Linked DNA regions of Homo sapiens: region 1 is linked to region 2. The links are contacts of gene promoters, found by promoter capture Hi-C in blood cells and fetal thymus (Javierre and others, 2016). All regions are on one chromosome and are shown on one strand. The core of a region is centred on a gene start or on the middle of the fragment in contact, and the rest is flanking DNA. Distances in the headings are between cores, read along the strand shown. Region 1 overlaps MCF2L (MCF.2 cell line derived transforming sequence like). Region 2 holds the start of GRTP1 (growth hormone regulated TBC protein 1).

What was found. The method cuts DNA at HindIII sites, captures the fragments that hold promoters and counts their contacts. A CHiCAGO score of 5 or more calls a contact.
Region 1: a contact is called between a fragment that was not itself captured here and the fragment with the promoter of GRTP1 in region 2, in 2 of 17 cell types (M0 macrophages and M2 macrophages). The highest score is 5.5, in M0 macrophages.

Annotation. Positions count from the first base shown.
Region 1 is chr13:113,026,507-113,029,855 of GRCh38, forward strand. All of the region lies in intron 3 of MCF2L (MCF.2 cell line derived transforming sequence like), which reads left to right. Among named protein-coding and RNA genes, the nearest start is that of MCF2L, 59 kb to the left of the region's middle. RefSeq lists enhancers at 799-1,300, 1,301-1,800. The HindIII fragment of the contact is 8,054 bases long and covers 1-3,349 here.
Region 2 is chr13:113,362,320-113,365,564 of GRCh38, forward strand. It overlaps GRTP1 (growth hormone regulated TBC protein 1), which reads right to left and starts at 1,811. Exons shown (of 8, transcript NM_024719.4): 1 at 1,701-1,811; 2 at 1,443-1,591. The coding sequence starts at 1,732. RefSeq lists a silencer at 1,395-1,689 and an enhancer at 2,677-3,245. The HindIII fragment of the contact is 5,619 bases long and covers 1-3,082 here.

The DNA of each region.
Region 1 (3,349 bases), core at 591-3,090, 340 kb before region 2:
CGGGATCTGACTTAGCCTGAGCGCTGCTGTGCTCCCTCGTATACCATCACTGCGCATGCCTGTTCGATCAGCAGAGTTCTGCGGTGCGAGGGCTTCTGTGTTCTTAATGCCGAGGAGCCCATCTGCACGGGACCTGATGCTCATGGGAGCAGAGCCCGTCCACGTGGCCTCTCTGTGTCGTGGTCAGGCCCTGGGGGCGTGGCCGCCTCCTGCCCTTTCCAGGAAAGAACTGACCCCAGAGGTACCAGAAAATCCAGTTAACAAAAATGGTTCCCTCAGGCTGCAGTTTTTTGTTTTGTTCCAGACAGAGCTGGGTCCCTGTCCTCTGAAAAGGTAGGGAGCCCAGTTCTGTGTCTCCCCAGCGGCGGGCAGGAGAGCAGCATCAGGCCGGTGAGCTGCAGGCTGACTTGGGAGGGGTGCCGCGGGGGTCTCTCATCTGATGTGCTCGTCCCAGCCTCCAGGAAGATGCTGAGAATGTCAGCCTCACACCAGACAGTGTAGTTGCTGCTTCCATTTGGGGTATAGTGAACACACACCAAGTAAAAACAGAAATATCCTTAAATATGGCATCTGTATCCCGCACATTACATAAGGTGGCAAAACACAGAGGAGATGTTTAACCATCAGCGTGAAAGTGCAGCCGTGGCCATTACCGTGAAGGTTCTTCATTCTTCAGTCTTTAAAGACAACAGCGCACTGGGCCTGGTAACTGAGAGCTCAGCCCGTCGGCCTGACCTGGAAAGCAGCACATTGATCCCCTGATAAATATCACATAACCACCAGCTGGCAGCAGCCAGCCTCTGCAGTCATGCCTCAAGGAGAGGGAGAGCGGTGGGCACCTCTGTCCACTTGGCGGGTTGAGGTGGGAGCTGGAGGAGCAGGGAGCCTCACCGGTGGGCCTTTCGGGGGCAGGACGTCTTGGTGGGCAGAAAGAAGGGGGCTCGTGACTGACTATGGTCAAAGCCCTGGACATGGCGGTGTCCTGGTAGCCCCAAATCACTGTGTGTTGGGTTTGTGGTTTTGACCTCAGTCTCTTGTCTGTTGTGAGAATCTTGCACCCCCTATGCGCCAGGCTCTGCTGGCTGAGCTGAGTGCACGGAGGAGGGGCTGGGTCTCGGGCCGAGCGGCCGAGCTCCCTGAGGGGCTGATGGGACCGGCTTGGTGGGGCAAGGCTGCGATGCTGCAGACGGTTTCCACACATTCCTCCCTGGTTCTCAGCCACACTGTGGCAGGAAGGCAGTTATTAAGCCCATGTTATAGATGAGGCTTAATAACACGGTGATGGCTGGAGAAAGGGGATGGCTGGGCAGGGGAGCGCCCGAAGGCTCAGACCACATGGCCGTACCCCGAGGACGTAGGCTCCAGGTGTGCTGTGGCCAGAGGGGTGTCCTGGGGAGGGCGGTCATCTCCAAGCCTCCAGGCCTTTGTCTGTCACCTGCACAGGAGGAAGGGCCTGTGTCCCAGGGGACGGCCGGCCTGACAGGTACATCCGCCCCCTGATGGCACCTCCTGGCATGGGGCTAAATGAGATTCTGTGGTGTCCACACTGAATGCTGACTGGTCAGACTCATGCTCAGAAATCAGGGCTGTTGTCAGTGCTTGCTACTTGGAGCCATGAGCTGGGGCGCCTCCTGTTTGTTGAACCTTCCTGTCTCTTTTGTCTTAGAAACTTCATGGAGTCCCTTAGCTACCCACATCCCTTTCTCAAGATTTTTCTAGAATCTGCGGAGTTCCTTAGCTACCCACATCCCTTTTCTTGAGATTTGTCTAGAATCTGCAGCACTCAAAGGCCACCCATCAAGGCCATAAGAGTGTGGTAGGCGGCACGTGTTCATGTGTGCACGCCTCTGTTTATCCGATGTTCTGGAACCTTCCATGGCCTCCTTGCTGCTGCCCCACTTGTCTGTCTGCTTCTCCTGAGATCCAGGAATCTCAGATGGGTCCAGACTCCTGCAGGACAAGACCCACTCAGCCACCTCTGTAGATTGCGCATCTGTGAGTCGCACAGCCTGGTCTGGCTGAAGGTGGCCGGAGCGCAGGCCCAGTCCCCGCTGTGGACACGCGGGCCCCAGGTTGCTCAGAGGCAGCTCCATGGATCCCCACTGTTCACCTGTGTATGGAAACTCAGGTTTTCTGGTCACACTTAGATAATAAAAAGTGGAAGAGGCCTTTCTATCACCAAACGCTCTAAATCAGATCCTGGAAATGCCAGCTTCATTCAGCCATGAGCAGTGCTGCTGACCGTGGAGCTGTTTCCCCCACCAGACTCAGTGTGGGTGTCTGAGTGTGTGGTGTGAGTGTGTGTAATGTGAGCCTGTGGTGTGTGTGGGGTGAGTGTGTGGTGTGTGTGGCGTGTGCGGGGTGTGTGTGGGGTATGTGTGGTGTGTGTGTAATGTGAGCATGTGGCATGTGTGGGGTAAGTGGTGTGTGTGGTATGTGTGGACTATGTGAGGCATGTGTGGGGTGAGTGTGGGGTGTGGTGTGTGGGGGGTGTGTGTGAGCGTGAGTGTATGCGTGCATTCTACCCACGTTTCCTTTCTTCCCAGGTAGGTCTCATCAGTGTCAGACCCAATGCTCCCTTTCTATCTGGAAATAAAACTCTTTGATAACAAAACCCAACCTGTGTGAATTTGGGAGGACGCCCATGTGCCCTGATCAGAAGGACCCACAGAAGGGAAGCTGCGGGCCTGTAAGAGCCACCTGTCCCCTGGCTGTCCCGGCATCCTAGGGCGCAGCAGCCGCGGCAGCTCCCCTGGATTTCTGTGAGCACGGGGCTGCAGGCGTGCTGTGGGGACCCCGTGCCTCCAGGGTGTTGCCATTGAGCATGTCCTTCCAGAGAGAGTGAACAATTCTTGACACATTTCTAAGGGAAATCTTCTTCCTAAGGGCATCTACGGGATGCCTTCTTGAGAAGTGCAGAGTGTGTTAAAAATGTGGGGGTCAATCATGGCCTCTGCAGATAAAACCAGGGTCCCTGCAAGCCTTGCAGGTGCAGCTTGGCAGAGGGGACCGTCCCAGAGGAAGTCTCTGCATCCCTGGCGAGCAAAATTGCCAGGCTAGTGACAAGGAGGAGACCTGCCCACTGCGCCCTGAGGGTGCTGTGTCCCCGGGAAGTACCCTCTGCGGGGGACCCTCTTCCCAAGGTGGGGGCGGGGCTGCCCTCTGCTGGAGACGCGGAGCATTGCGGCTCGGTCCCGGGACATCCCTGGGAGACCAAGAGAGGGAGGGGAGCTTGGACCTTTTCTTCCAGGAGATGGTGGACGAGACCCTGGCACAGGCGGTTCCCCAGCACGCAGTTTCCAGACAGCTGCACAGCCAGCACATTCTTTAAGTGGGAAAAAAGTGAAAT
Region 2 (3,245 bases), core at 561-3,060:
ACTCTGTCTCAAAAATAAATAAATCAAAAAGAATAAATGAAAAGGAAAAATAAAGACACACGTTCCACTGGAAACATGTGAACATGCAGAGGCCACAGGGATGGGACATGATGCATTCGTGGGAAGCATATAGGATATTAACTTCCATCTCTATAAAAAATTTAAAAATTAGCCAGGAGTGGTGGCCACACCAGTGGTCCCAGCTATGCGGGAGGCTGAGAGGGGAGGATGGCTGGAGCCCAGGAGGTCAAGGCTACAGTGAGTGGTGATTGTGCCACTGCACTCAGAGGGATACCCTGTCTCAAATAAATAAATAAAAGCAAAAGTTGATCTTGTCACCCCCTGCCTGGAAAACCTTTAACAGTTGGCTTCTCTGTGCCTGGCCGTGGTCACCACACACCTCCGACCCTCCGCCCAGGTGCAGGGCCCCTGGTTTCATCTCTGTCCTTCCCCACCAGGTCCCTACTGCTCGGTCCCTGGAAGCCCAGCTGCCATTCACATCCCCCTTCTCAGGAAGCCCCCAGGACTCCCCTTTGACCCCACTTCTCTGAGTTCCTAGCTCCAGGGCACACTCCCACCAAGCCCTCACCCCAGGCAGACACTTCATTCATTCACTGAACACACAGGGAAGTCGCCTGGCACTGCCCCAGGTTCTGAGGACTGAGCAGTGAATGAAAAATCCGTTGCAGGGAGGAAGGGTTTTTGACTCCAGCAGGGGCTGTGCTGGGAAAGGCAGAAATGAGGAGGTGCCCTCCGCACAGGGAAGCCTGGGGCGCCCCGGAGGAGGGGGCCCTGCAGCTAACCCCGAGGCGGGCGGGCGGTCAGGCCGGTGCTCACCGCAGCAGTAGGAGGCCTGGGGTCGCGGAGGAGCGGCAGGTCGAGCAGGGCCCTGTGGGTCCCGTCACAAGGACGGAGTCTCGCTCTGTCGCCCAGGCTGGAGTGCAATGGCGCAATCTCGGCTCACTGCAACCTCCGCCTACTGGGTTCAAGCGATTCTCCTGCCTCAGCCTCCAGAGTAGCTGGGACTACAGGCAGGAGCCACCACGCCCGGCTAATTTTGTATTTTTAGTAGAGACGGGGTTTCACCATGTTGGTCAGGCTGGTCTCAAACTCCTGACCTCGTGATCCGCCCGCCTCGGCCTCCCAAAGCGCTGGGATTACAGGCGTGAGCCACCGCGCCCGGCATGGATCGAGTTTTGATCCATCCCGATATGGCTCCCTGCTGGGAGGGACGGGTCTCCTTCGCGTCCGACCCGCCGGCCCATCTCAAAGCGGGAAAACCGGTCCCTGCGGCTGCCCTAGCTCGGAGCCCGCAGCTTCGTCCCGACCTGCCCGGAAAGGTTCCTCCCCCTCCCTCCGCTCCGGGAGCCCGGACTTTGCCCGGCCCGTCCCAGCCCAACCCACCTGCGCCCTCGGGACCCACCTGCGCCCCCGGGACCCACCTGTCCGGCTCCTGGGGACGCCCCCGCCCTGCAGCAGCCGGGACCATTTGATCGCCCTGCGGGTGAGCGTGACCAGGTAGCTGGAGAAAAACTTCTCGTAGGCGGCGTCGTCGAAGTCCTCAGGCCGCTCGAATCCGTACGGGTCGATCCTGCAAAACCGAGAGAAGGAGGCCGGCGTCCCCGAAGTTTCCTCTGGGGGGTCGCGGGCCCGCGCGGGGACCGCAGCCGCCGGGGACGCCCGCACCCCGCGCCACACACCTGGGGACCCGCGAGCGCTCGGCGGGCTGCATGCGGGGAGGGAGGCGCGCACCGAGCGAGGCCAGCGGGTCCCAAGTTCGCCTCCCGGCTCCGGGGCGCTTAAGTCCTTCCGGCGGGACCGCGGGCGCGTGGGGGCGGGGCGGGGAGCGGAGAGGGGCGGGGCTGGAGGCGGGGGCGGGGGGGGGCAGGGCGGGGGGAGGGGCGGCTGGGGGCGGGGAGGACTTGGGGAGAGAGGAGGGGCAGGAGCGGGGGAGGGGCAGGGGAGCACCCAGGGCGGGGGAGGGGCGGGGCTGGGGGCGGGAGGACCTGGGGAGAGAGGAGGGGCAGGAGCGGGTGAGGGGCGGGGGAGGGCCGGGGGAGGGGCAGGGGAGCACCCAGGGCGGGGGAGGGGCGGGGCTGGGGGGGCGGGAGGACTTGGGGAGAGAGGAGGGTGGGGGCGGGGCGGGGCCTGCTCCCGGGGCTTCCGAGGCCGCGGCGTCCCGCGGGCAGAATCGGGGGCGCCTCCCGCAGAACCCCCGCGGCCTGGACCCGGGTGAGAGGAGCTTCTTCTGCGATTCCTTCAAACCTCAGTGCCTGGCCGACCCGACTCTGACACCTGACTCCTATTTTTATTTTATTTTTTATTTTCTCCGCTGCATTTCAAGGCCGAGACCAACACACAAATGAGAAGCCCCCAGGGGCGCCCGCCCGTTCCTGCCCCCCCAAACCAGGGACCGGGGTCCCCCCACCGGCGAGCCAGGCCTGGGAGAATCCGGGGCAGCTCTGGTTCCGAACGGCTTCTTCTCGGTCCGCATCCAATGACATTGTCCTGAGATTTCAGCTGCTTTTCGTGTCCGGGAGGCCCCGGAAATTTGCCAGAACTGCAGATTTTGAATTTTGCTCTGGCGACGTGGCAAAGGGGAGCCCCCAGACGTGAGGCGCTGGGGCGACCTCGCCCTGGGTCCCCCAGGGGTCTGGAGCGGGGGCTCCTCCGACAGGCCTCTCCCCGCCTGTAATTTAGGCCCAGGGCGACCTGGACAGGCCCCAGGAGGAGGCCGTCCCCGGACTCCAGACGCACTTTCCTGTGAGAAGCAGCCCGGCCTCGTCTGGGTGAGGCGAGGATCACAGGCTCAGCGTCCCCTGCGCGTCCGTCAGGGCCTTTCGGAACCAACTTGGGACCTTCCCATGGGTGTTTCCGGAATGTTCCATGCGAGCGCCACCCAGGAGCCTGGTCAGCAGCGTGTGGAACGGACCGGTCCCTAAGTGCGGACTCCCGCCTCTGCCTTTCACCCTTCTCCAGCCCTTGCAAGACCGGGGGGCGGGGTGGGGGTCAGTGCCCAGCGGAGCAGAGCCCCCGACACGGTTCCTCCCGTTCCTAGTCTGCTGGTTCTGGGAACTCCCCAAGCTTTCAGCCCAGCTCCTCAGCACTGGCCTTTGGTAACACGCGGCGTCCCTCATTTGAAAGATCACACAGCCCCCACTCTACGGTCTGACCTCCTTGGGATGTTTAGACCCAAGCCAGGAGACAGGGCCATAGCCTCCTGCCCCTCGGCCTACGGGTGCCCC